2 separate regions of the Homo sapiens genome follow, and region 2 is linked to region 1. The links are contacts of gene promoters, found by promoter capture Hi-C in blood cells and fetal thymus (Javierre and others, 2016). All regions are on one chromosome and are shown on one strand. Each heading gives the region's core, a stretch centred on a gene start or on the middle of the fragment in contact. The rest is flanking DNA. Distances are from core to core; before and after follow the strand shown.

Region 1 (5,950 bases), core at 3,451-5,950:
CCCTGGCCACCCAGAGCACTACATTCCATATGTTTTCACTTCTTGTGGCTGCTGTAACAAATTAGCACAAATGCAGAGGCTTAAAACAACACACGTGTATCCTCCTATAGCTCCAGAGGTCAGGAGTATGAGATCAATATCACTGGGCCAGAATCAAGGTGTCTACAGAGCCCTGCAGCCTCTGGAGGCTCTTTTTGAAGATTTAATTATTTTATTTTTGAGACAGGGTCTCTCTTTGTCACCCAGGCTGGAGTGCAGTGGCACAATCTCAGCTCATCACAACCTCCGCCTCCCAGGCTCAAGAAATCCTCCTGCCTCAGCCCCCCGAGTAGCTGGGATTAGAGGCGTGTACTACCCTGCCTGTCTAATTTTCGCATTTTTAGTAGAGATGGGGTTTCGCCCAGCCCCAGGCTGGTCTTGAACTCCTGGACTCAAGCAATCTGCCCTCCTCGGCCTCCTAAAGTGGTAGGATTACAAGTGTGAGCCACCATACCTGGCCTTCTAATTTTTCTTTTTTCTTTTTTCTTTTTTTTGAGACGGAGTCTCGCTTTGTCACCCAGGCTGGAGTGCAGTGGCGCGATCTTGGCTCGCTGCAACCTCCGTCTCCCGGGTTCACACCATTCTCCTGTCTCAGCCTCCCGAGTAGCTGGGACTACAGGCGCCTGCCACCACGCCCGGCTAATTTTTTGTATTTTTAGTAGAGACGGGGTTTCACCGTGTTAGCCACGATGGCCTCGATCTCCTGACCTCATGACCCACCTGCTTCAGCCTCCCAAAGTGCTGGGATTACAGGTGTGAGCCACCGTGCCCGGCTTTTTTTTTTTTTTTTTTTTTAAGACGGAATCTGGCTCTGTCGCCCAGGCTGGAGTGCAGTGGTGCAATCTTGGCTCACTGCAACCTCCGCCTCCCTGGTTCAAGCTGTTCTTCTACCTCAGCCTCCCTAGTAGCTGGGATTACAGGTGTGTGCCACTATGCCTGGCTAATTTTTTGTATTTTTAATAGAGACGGGGTTTTGCCATGTTGGCCAGGCTGGTCTTGAACTCCTGACCTCAAGTGATCTGCCTGCTTCGGCCTCCCAAAGTGCTGTGATTACAGGCGTGAGCCACCGCACCTGGCCTATTTAAGATTATTTATTAAAACATTTGGTAGGTTTTAATACTTCATGAATACAAATTCAAAATAATGGCTTTTGTTGTTGTTTTTAAAAAGCACATTAATGGCCAGGCGCGGTGGCTCACACCTGATAATTCCAGCACTTTGGGAGGCCAAGGAGGGTGGATCACCTGAGATCAGGAGTTCAAGACCAGCCTGGCCAACATGGTGAAGACCCGTCTCTACTGAAAATACGAAAATTAGCTGGGTGTGGTGGTGCATGCCTGTAATCCCAGGTACTTGGGAGGCTGAGGCAGGAGAATCGCTTGAACTCAGGAGGCGGAGGTCTCAGTGAGCCCAGATTGCGCCACTGCACTCCAGCCTGGGCAACAGTGAGAGTCTGTCTCAAAAAAAAATAAAATAAGTAAAAATAAATAAAAAAATATAAATAAATATAAAAATATAAATATATAAATTAAAAATAAATAAAAAGCACATTAAAACTTGCAGTTTTTGCCCCCTGAACCTTCCCCCCATCACATCCCTCTTCAACGTTTGCCCCATCACCATCCTGAATTTGGTGTTCATCCAAGTCCCAAACATTTCTTTGAACCGCATACATGTCTCTAAATCATATGTAGAATTGTTTTGCATTTTCAAAATTTATGAAAATTGTATCATATTGCCACTTGCCTTTTTTTGTTTGGCATAGCCTCCGTGAGATTTATCCATCATTCTCCTGTTGACTAACATTTAGACTGTTTTCGGTTTTGCCATTACAAACAACACTGCCCTGAACACAGAGGTAGTCTTTATTACTAACAGAATTAGGACATATTAAGCCTATATGTGTCTGACGTTCTGTTCTGTCTCTTTACCATAATGGTGCCTACTGCAGGTGATGTTACCATCCCCATTGTACAAAGGAGTTATCCTTGTCTCCCTCCTCCACCCCAAGCTAATCAACCACCAAGCACTGTTGAATGTGCTCCAGGAATCTTGGCCAGATCCTTGTCAGTGACTACCACCATCACTAGTTACCCCAACTCTGGACCACTCCAGGAGCTTCCAGCTAGTCTCACTGCTCCTCTCCAGTCTTTCTGAGATCTGTACTCCACAAAGCTTCTTATCTGATCACGATGCTATCCTACTTAAAACCCCAAACTCTATTGACTCCAAGGATAAAATCCTTAATCCTCACCAGAGTCTCCAAGTATGGTCAGGCCTTGCCCATCCCTCCAGCCACATCTCCCAATCTCTGGTCTCCATTCTGTTCCTCAAACGCACCGTGTTCTCTCCGGCCCCAGGACCTTTGCACTTTTCACTCCTGCTGTCTGGAATCCTCCCCACCGGTTCCCCAGGTTAACCCTAGGCTGCTCAACTGTCACTTCCACCCTGAAGGTATCAGGTTCCCTCTTTTACGCCGCTTGCTAACATTTGCCAAAGAAGTGATTAAACAATTCTTCGTGCAATTTTGTCCACTGTATGCCTCTCATGGTAATTTTGTCCACTGTATGCCTCTCATGGCAAGCTCCATGAAAGCAGGCACCTGCCACCACTCCATCACCCGAGCGCCTAGTTAAGGGGGCAGTTGGGAGGACTCAACGTGCAGCGTTTATGCATTTATTATGCCTGGATGAATGGTCTTGAATGAGTTACAACCTTGAGGGTTAATGTCCCCCATTAACAGATATGGAAACTGAGGTTCAGGGCGCGCAAGGGAACCGCCCGCAGTCTCGACGACAAGGACGCTGCCACCGGGAGACTGCAGCCCCTTCCTCCGAGCCCCTGGCAGTGCCGCCACTTGAGGAGACCCTCCAGGCCGCCAACCCACCCCCTCTAGAGCGCCCAGGAATCTGCCTCCGGGGAGGGCGCGGGGCGCTCTGGGAAATGTAGTCCTGCCAGCTTCCTGAATCCGGCGTCCCCAAATTTGTTTCCGGCGGGCTGAGTCCTAGCCGATGCTTTGGGAAAGACGCGCGAGATTCCGGGGGTAGATCCGGGATGCGAGGCGGGGCGCGCATGCGGGGCGGAGCTTGTGCGGGGCGGGGCGTACGTTGAGTGTACGCCTGCTGTGTATGCTGCGTTGCTGCTCACCCGAACTCGGTGCTGGGACTCTTTCCTGGGCACCCCAGGCAGAGGGAAACTCCGGATCATGTTCAACCAAAGAGGAAAAGCAGCGAGAATCCAGCATAGGAGACGGGCCTTAGGATGCCCAAGTTAGGATTAGGGGCAAACTACGTTAACCTGGTAGTTAGGAGCTGAAGTTCTGGAATCAAAGATTTGGGTTCCAATCCCATTTCTGTACTTCCTGTTTGACCTTCTCTGGGGGGTTCAATACTTAAAACTCTCAGAGCTTCAGGGTTTTGTTTTGTTTTGTTGAACCGGTAGGTCTAGTTATAGTACCTCTATTACTAAATGAGGAAGAAACGAAGTACAAATGTGTTTTGCTTGCTTGATGCTCAAGAATTGATGCGACCGGGAGCGGTGGCTTACTCCTGTAATCTCAGCACTTTGGGAGGCTGACGTGGGTGGATTGCTTGAGGCCGTTGGAGACCAGCCTGGGCAACATGGGGAAACCCCATCTCTACTAAAAATACAAAAATTAGCCGGACCTGGTGGTTCGTGCCTGTAATCCCAACTATTCGGGAGGTTAGGTAGGAGAATTGCTTAAAACCGGGCGGCGGAGGTTGCTGTGAGCCAAGGTCGAGCCACTGCACTCTAGCCTGGGCGACAGAGTGAGACCCTGTCTCTAAATAAATAAATACATACATACAAGAATTGATACCTGGCTGGGCACACCTGTAATCCTGACACTTTGGGAAGCTGAGGCGGGAAGATTGCTTGGGCCCAGGAGTTTGAGACCAGCCTAGGCACCATGGTGGGACTTCATCTCTAACAACAACAACAAAGATTGATGCCCATTATTATGTTGTCAGAAAGAAGCAGGCAGGACAAGGGATATTTGGGGTTGGACGTTGTTGGGGGCCCTCTTGGGGGAGGGTGGGCGCAAGCACTTGGCATCTCTTCCAGTTTTATCTTGAACAACTTCTGCCTTTATTTATTTTATTTATTTATTATTTATTTATTTATTTTTTGAGATGGAGTTTCGCTCTTGTTGCCCAGGCTGGAGGACAATGGCAGGATGTCGGCTCACTGCAACCTGCGCCTTAGCCTCCTGAGTAGCTAGGATTACAGGCATGAACCACCACGCCCAGGTTTCTCCACGTTAGTCAGGCTGGTCTCGAACTCCCGACCTCAGGTGATCCGCCCGCGTCGGCCTCCCAAAGTGCTAGGATTACAGGTGTGAGCCACCGTGCCCGGACGACTTTGCTGGCTTTAAAGATGGAGGAGGCGGCCAGAGGAGAGCGGAGCGGGTGTGGAACAGTGACTGGGAAAGTAGCCCAGAGGCTGCAGAGTCGCCGCACGCTCGCGCGGTCACCGAGGTGCTGGACTACGTTACCCACAATGCGTGCCTTTGAGGACCACATTAACCACAGTGCACGTCGCGGACCCGCCCACTCGGCCGTGTTGCCACGCCCCCAACGGCCGGCTTAGCCAATGGTGCCACGGCTACGTTACCCACAATGCCGCCTGCGGGCCCACCCGCACGGCCTGGTTTGCACCCCTGGTTTAGGGTCTTCGGCCCCGGCTCTGGCGTCCCTGGCTGCCAAGCCTGAGGCCCGCAGTCCTACTCCCGCCGAGACCCGCCGCTCCGGTCCTGCCCCGAACTGCCCACGGCCGGCAGCGCTTCCAGTGAGTGCGGGGGGCGCGGGGACGCGGGTCCCGGCCGAAGCTTCGATTTCGCGGCCCGCGCCAGCACCCGGGTCTGTGCCGCGGCCTCGGGTACCGCTCACCCTCCACCTGAGGGATGAGACGGGAAAGCAGCCCGGCCTGGGGGTCCCAGCTCTCCCAGGACCCTGGAATTGGGGGGCTGTCGTGACCACCCACGCGGGGGTGCCTGACGGGGCCGCGTAGGGGCTTCAGGGTTCGCCAGACCTGGACACCGGGGATCAAGTTGAGGCAGAGTCTGCAGAAAGGCCCTACTTTTCATCAGATTTCCAAAGGAACCCCTTCCATATAGGACCCACTCTAATCATGGAAAATAACGATTCTCGAGCTCTGACCGCAAACATCCCTTTTAGATTGTTTTTGTTTGAGTCTCTCTCTGTCGCCCAGGCTGGAGTGCAGTGGCGCTATCTCAGTTCACTGCAACCTCCATCTCCCGGGTTCAAGCGATTCTCCTGTCTCAGCCTCCCGAGTTGCTGGGATTACAGATGTGCTACCACCATGTCGGGCTAATTTTTGTATTTTTTGTAGAGACAGGGTTCCACCACGTTGACCAGGTGGTCAACTCCTGAACTCACGTGATCTGCCCTCCTCTGCCTCCCAAAGTGCGGGGATTACAGGCGTCAGCTACTGCCCCCAGCCATCCCTTTTAGTTCTGTCAGCAACCTGTGTGTGTAGGTCCTGTTATCATCTCTGTTTGCCCAGTGAGGAAGCAAAGCCCAGAGCCCTTCAGTAAATTACCCGGGAATTAACAGGGGGTTAATAACAAAGATGACATTCATCCACTTCCTTTTCCTTTTCCATGGTGGGGTGAGCTGGCCTTGGAACCAGGGCAGGGGCTTCCCAGGCCAAAGGGCTTATCCAGCCCCAGGGCTGCCCTTCAGATGGTTTTATCGTCTCTCCACAGGGCCCTGAAAAAAACTCTCTTCCTGTGTCTGGCCAGAGGTATAGAGAGAGACAGGTTCAACTCTAAGGCCTGAAAAGGAACAAGGCCCACCGGAAGCAATGGCCACTGTCCCTGGCCTCCAGCCCCTGCCAACCTTGGAGCAGGACCTGGAACAGGAAGAGATCC
Region 2 (5,966 bases), core at 3,464-5,963, 52 kb before region 1:
TTTAGTTTTATTATCCTTGGTGCGGCTACACCTGTTGCTGGGCATAATTATGGAAAGCCCATGAAGGTCCACTGTCGTGGCTACTCTGTTTCTGTTAATATGCTCAGTAAGATGAGATCGCCAAGGGCTTGGTACCAGACACAAGTAGGCCAAAACCCTGAAATTCCAGAATAGATGTGACTTAGTTTGCTGGGTTATCTGCTGTGCCTGATGAGTACCGAATTTATAAAGCACAGGTATGCTTGTTAATATTTTCCCACAGGCTCATTGGAATAATTTGTGTACCAACCTAGCAGAATCATCTATTCTTTTACACTTTAAAGCCAGTTTTCCTCTAGCTGGAATGGGGCTTGTTTTTATAAAAAGGCTTAGGCCAAAATGGGAAAAGAGTTTCCAGACAATTGTGAAAAAGAGACCAGAATCCAGAGGTGTTGCAGCCAGAGGAGAGTCCAGTTACCAGGGAGAAGGAAGTGACCTTTGGTGGCAGATAACTGGTTTTATTTCACTGTTTTCTGGTTTCAGCCTGTTAAAGATGCAGATCCTCATTTCCATCATTTCCTGCTAAGCCAAACAGAGAAGGTGAGTTGCCTTTGAGGCTCTTGGCCCTTGGTCAGGGGCTGGCCAAGGAGTGCTCCTCCACTGGGTCCTGGCCTGGCCATCTGAAAAGTTAGGCTCTGCCGGTGTATTGCCCAGAGCAACTAGCCCAGAAGCCCCCATATGGGCCCGCTAATGAGCCAAGCATTGTTAAGATTAAAAGTAAATCCAGGCCGGGCGCGGTGGCTCACACCTGTCATCCCAGTACTTTGGGAGGCTGAGGCAGGTGGATCATGAGGTTAGGGATTCAAGACCAGTCTGACCAACATGGTGAAACCTCATCTCTACTAAAAATAGAAAAATTAGCTGGGCATGGTGGCGCGTGCCTGTAATCCCAGCTACTCAGGAGGCTGAGGCAGGAGAATTGCTTGAACCCGGGAGGCAGAGGTTGCAGTGAGCCAAGATTGCGTCGCTGCACTCCAGACTGGGCAACAGCGTAAGACTCTGTCTCAAAAAAGATAAATAAACCCAAAGGCCGGGCATGGTGGCTCATGCCTATAATCCCAGCACTTTGGGAGGCCAAGGCGGGTGGATCACCTGAGGTCAGGAGTTCAAGACCAGCCTGGCCAACATGGTGAAACCCCATCTCTACTGAAAATACAAAAATTAGCTGGGCATGGTGGTGCATTCCTGTAATCCCAGCTACTTGGGAGTCTGAGGCAGTAGAATCGCTTGAACCCAGGAGGTAAAGGTTGCAGCAAGCCGAGATGGTGCCACTGCACTCCAGCCTGGGCGACAGAGCGAGACTCTATCTCAGAAGAGCATTTAAAACTCAGCCAGCTGTGTAGTTGAGACTGTCACAGTGACCTTTAGAGTTTAGGGCAGAAACCAAACATCGTAAGCTGTCAGCACCCCATGAAATTGCATGGCAGACACATCTTCAAGCTCACTCCAAGAGGTAGTCTCCAAGTCCTGCGGATGCAGAGGGAGGTCCTCCCAAGGTCTGCAAGGTTATGGGGTGGCCTGAGCCGTGCTAGGATCTCATGAGAGTTTGTGGCTTTGGAGTTGGATAGATGTGGGTTCCAAGCTTATGACTCTTATTCTCAACACCATGGTCAGCAAAAAGACCTGGTAGAATTGCATGGGGACTTGAATGAGGTAATGTGTATGAACTTTCTAGTGTAAAATTTGGAGTTCACTAAAGTATAAAACAAATAGTTGATGTTAACTTCCCACTTTGGGTCTAACCTTTGAGGGGATTATTATGAAGACTGGTTAAGCCTGCAGTAGCACAAGTAGTCTCTTTCCTCCTCCTTCATTAGCCAGCTGTCTGTTACCAGGCAATCACGAAGAAGTTGAAAATATGTGAAGAGGTATGTAGGCTCCATGCCTCCCCATTTTAATTTTCACCTGGGGCCTTAAACTGCAGGCAGACTGACTTGATGATGTGTGCTTCCTGTCCGTAGGAAACTGGCTCCACCTCCATCCAGGCAGCTGACAGCACAGCCGTGAATGGCAGCATCACACCCACAGACAAAAAGTAGGACCTTTGATGAAAAGGCCTCCAGTGGCTCTGGTTCTGCTGAGGGTGGGGAGAAGGTGACCCCAGGGGGGTTCTTTAAGGGTTGTGTCCCAGCCATTGCTGGCATTGAATGGAAAAGGTGGGGGGATGTTGTAACTCTTATCGATAAAGACAGGAGTCAAAAGCTGTGTAAATCTGTGGTCGGGTCTCCCTTGGGCATAAGCTGAGGGATTTTTTTGGCTCCAGAACTCAAGAGCAAGGAGCACTTGGCTCAGTGGTTCTCAGACTTTCCTGTGCCTGACAGTCACCTGGAAGGTGGCTTCTCAGTCAATATGTCCGGGTGGGGCCCAAGAATTTGTATTTTTAACCAGTTCCCAGGTATACTGCTGCTGCTGGTCAGAGCTACGCTGTGAGAACCACTGGCTGAGTAGAATCATGATGAGGCCCCAAAATTGGCCATGGTGGGGCAGGTGGGGGAAGGGAGATGAAAGTGCTTGGGGATCCTCACTGAGCACTTGCTGGCTGTCCTGCACCCTGCCCGGTGTGGGTGGGGCGATCCTGGACATGCTCCCAGACCCAACTTGCGCCCAGCCTTGCCTCTGTGCCTGCTCTGTAGGCATGTCTCCTCCGCAGAGTCTTGTTGGCAAAAAGATACCTTTTCTAGGAAAACACGTTCTCTGGAGCAAGTTAGCTAAAGTCAGTTTCCAGTTTGTACCTTTCACATGGTCTTCCCCAGACTAAAAACAGTGCATCTTTTACATGATATTTTTGTACTGTTTAAATCACTAATGCTACCAGTTATTTTTGGTGAACTTGTCTCTGTAGAGTGGAGGAGATAAGGGCATATTAGGTGCAAACAAAGGGGAGGAGGATTGTGTTAAAAAAATAAAAATAAAAAAATGATCAGGATAGGGTGAGGACAGAGTCCTGATGTTTTTACCCAACACATTTATTGGCCCATTAGTCAAACTTTTAATAAAAGAGTATGAAGCCAGCATCAAAACCAACCAGTTTTGTTGTTGCCCAACCCACCTTAATCCACATTTCCATTTTGTCTGAGACACAGTGTGAAGGACTCTCAGTTGCCATATTAAAAATCCAGAACCTTGACCTGGGCATGGTGGCTCATGGCTGTTATCCCAGCACTTTGGGAGGCCAAGGTGGGCGGATTACCTGAGGTCAGGAGTTCAAGACCAGCCTGGCCAACATGGTGAAACCCTGTCTCTACAAAAATTAGCCAGGCATGATGGTGGGTGCCTTTAATCCCAGCTACTTGGGAGGCTGAGGTGGGAGAATCGCTTGAACCCGGGAGGTGGAGGTTGCAGTGAGCCAAGATCGCACCACTGCACTCCAGCCTGGGCAACAGAACGAGACTGTGTCTCAAAAAAATCCAGAAGCTTTATCCCAGGTCTACTGGACTTCCTAGAACACCAAGAAAGGAAAGGGAATTCGCCTGTCATGATTTAGAATCATGGGGGAATATTGTACTACCCAAATAATGAGTGACAAAAAGGTACCTCCTTGTTTTTAAGCCACAACTTGAAGCAGTTAGCAAGGAGGTCTATTTTGGTGAGAAAGTTGGTGGGTTCCATTTTCAACATGTGATTCAAATTACTTAATACAGGCTGGGACAGGGAGAATGTGAGCAGCTGATATTCCAGCTGAGATTAGGGGTCCATTTGTAGAGATGGTTCCAGAAGACCAAAACTATGGAAAGAATGACAGGGTCAAAGTGGAGGAGCTGCCGGGGACATCCAGCAGTCAGAGAATTTCTGAATTGAAAACATGGCCAAGCGCAGTAGCTCATCCTTGTAATCCCCACACTTTGGGAGACCAAAGCAGAAGGATCCCTTGAGGCCAGGAGTTCATGACCAGCCTAGGAAATACAGCAAGACCCCGTCTCTACAAAAAAATTTTAAAACTTAGCCAGACATGGTGGCATGCACCTATAGTCCTAGCTGCTCAGGTGGACTGAGGTGGAAGGATCACTTGAGCCCAGGAGTTTGAGGCTGCGGTGAGCTATGATCACCCCCCTGCACTCCAGCCTGGGAGACAGCATAATGCTGTCACTAAAAAAAGAAAAAAGGCTGGGTGCAGTGGCTCACGCCCATAATCCTAACACTTTGGGAGGCTGAGGTGAGAGGATTGCCTGATACCAAAAGTTCGAGACCAGCCTAGCCAACATAGCAAGACCCCCCCATCTCTCTTTTTAAATAAATAAATAAATAAAAATTAAAAACTATAAAAACAAGAACATGATATGATCAGAAATGAGGAAAGGCATTCTTTTGCACCATTGTCACTTGCAAAGAGAGGTGAAGAAGTACAAGAATCAAGAAAAGACACTTTGGCAAGCTAAAAGTCATCCGTAAAAGCATGTTGAAATAGCAGCAGTGGCATCCAGCCCCCAGCTCTCAGGGTTGCAGGAAGGAGCAGGCGGAGTATGTGAATGTGTGTGGAGGAGACTGGCCAATGAGTGCTTCTGTCACAAGGATTGGGAAGGACCTGTGGAAGGAAGGGCTGGGGGAACAGTGAGAGGTTTGGGGGAAGGCAGGCATGGGGAGAAGGATTTGTGGACTGGGAAAGATTGGGTTCCAAGCTCAGGTGAAGGACTTAGCTTTGGAGAGGAGAGGCAAGGCCCATTCTGTTGATAACGGGAAGACGGGAAAGGTAGGGTGTGGGTAGAGAATTGAAGTTGGGAAAGAGAGGTGAAAATTGCCGTCCTGGTTCATGCAGTCAAGGAAGTTGCCTGGCTCTAAACACAGTGCTTCAGTGACTTGTGGTGGATTCTGTTGGGCTTTAAAGTAGTATCCAGAGCCGGGTGCAGTGGTTCACACCTGCAACCCCAGCACTTTGGGAGGCTGAGGTGGGCGGATCCCTTAAGCCCAGGAGTCCAAGACCAGCCTGGGTAACATGGCAAAAGCCCATCTCCACAAAAAATTAGGTGTGCTGACAGATGCCTGTAGTCTCAGCTACCCAGGAGGCTGAGGGGGAAGGATTACTTGAGCCCAGGAGGTCGAGGCTGCAGTGAGCCATGATTGCACCACTACACTGCAGCCTGGGCAACAGAACAAGACACTATCTCAAAAAATAAGTAAAGTGTGAGGCCGGGCATGGTGGCTCACGCCTGTAATCCGAGCACTTTGGGAGGCCGAGGTGGGCAGATCACGAGGTCAGGAGTTTGAGACCAGCCTGGCCAACATGGTGAAACCCTGTCTCTACTAAAAATACAAAAATTAGCTGGGCATGGTGGCGTGCGCCTGTAATCCCAGCTACTCAGAAAGCTGAGGCAGGAGAATCGCTTGAACCCAGGATGCAGAGGTTGCAGTGAGCTGAGCTCGCGCCATTGCACTCCAGCCTGGAACAGAGCAAGACTGTCTCAAAAAAAAAAAAAAGGGCAGCAAGGGGACTTTGCCCTGGGAGACTGGCCCTGAACCATACACATCATACTTTTTTCTGTGACAGTCAGGGGTTTCAAAATGCCTGTTTACATCCTGGGACAGCTTTAGACCATGGCATAAGAGAAGACCCATGTGCATGACGCCCCTGGCTCTGCAGGTAGATTGGCCACTGCTGTTTCTGGCAGTCTGAATTCCCCTACCCCAAGCTGTATAAGGGAGCGAGCCTTGTGCTGCATGGAATCATCATCACCGTGACCCTCCCTTTCCACCCTGAACTCATCAGTCTCTCTCTGTTTCAGGATAGGATTTTTGGGCCTTGGTCTCATGGGAAGTGGAATCGTCTCCAACTTGCTAAAAATGGGTCACACAGTGACTGTCTGGAACCGCACTGCAGAGAAAGTAAGCATTCAGGGGTGGTGCCTGTTGGATCGGTGGAGTCTGGGGTAACCCTAAGAGTGGACATCTCCCCCTGTTGTCTCAGCGTTCTGCGTGCAATAGAATAGAAGCCA

What was found. Contacts are between HindIII fragments. The CHiCAGO score rates a contact against its expected background, and 5 or more counts as called.
Region 2: a fragment that was not itself captured here is called in contact with the fragment with the promoter of ZNF500 in region 1 in 6 of 17 cell types (erythroblasts, megakaryocytes, endothelial precursors and 3 more); the score reaches 11.0 in erythroblasts.

The regions. Positions count from the first base shown.
Region 1 is chr16:4,765,912-4,771,861 of GRCh38, reverse strand. ZNF500 (zinc finger protein 500) reads left to right here and starts at 4,700. Exons shown (of 6, transcript NM_021646.4): 1 at 4,700-4,845; 2 at 5,786-5,950. The coding sequence starts at 5,884. RefSeq lists an enhancer at 3,382-3,461 and a silencer at 4,654-4,953. The HindIII fragment of the contact is 2,671 bases long and covers 2,217-4,887 here.
Region 2 is chr16:4,817,488-4,823,453 of GRCh38, reverse strand. It overlaps GLYR1 (glyoxylate reductase 1 homolog), which reads left to right. Exons shown (of 16, transcript NM_032569.4): 7 at 523-579; 8 at 1,857-1,907; 9 at 2,001-2,074; 10 at 5,757-5,856. Among named protein-coding and RNA genes, the nearest start is that of ROGDI, 18 kb to the right of the region's middle. The HindIII fragment of the contact is 2,515 bases long and covers 3,456-5,966 here.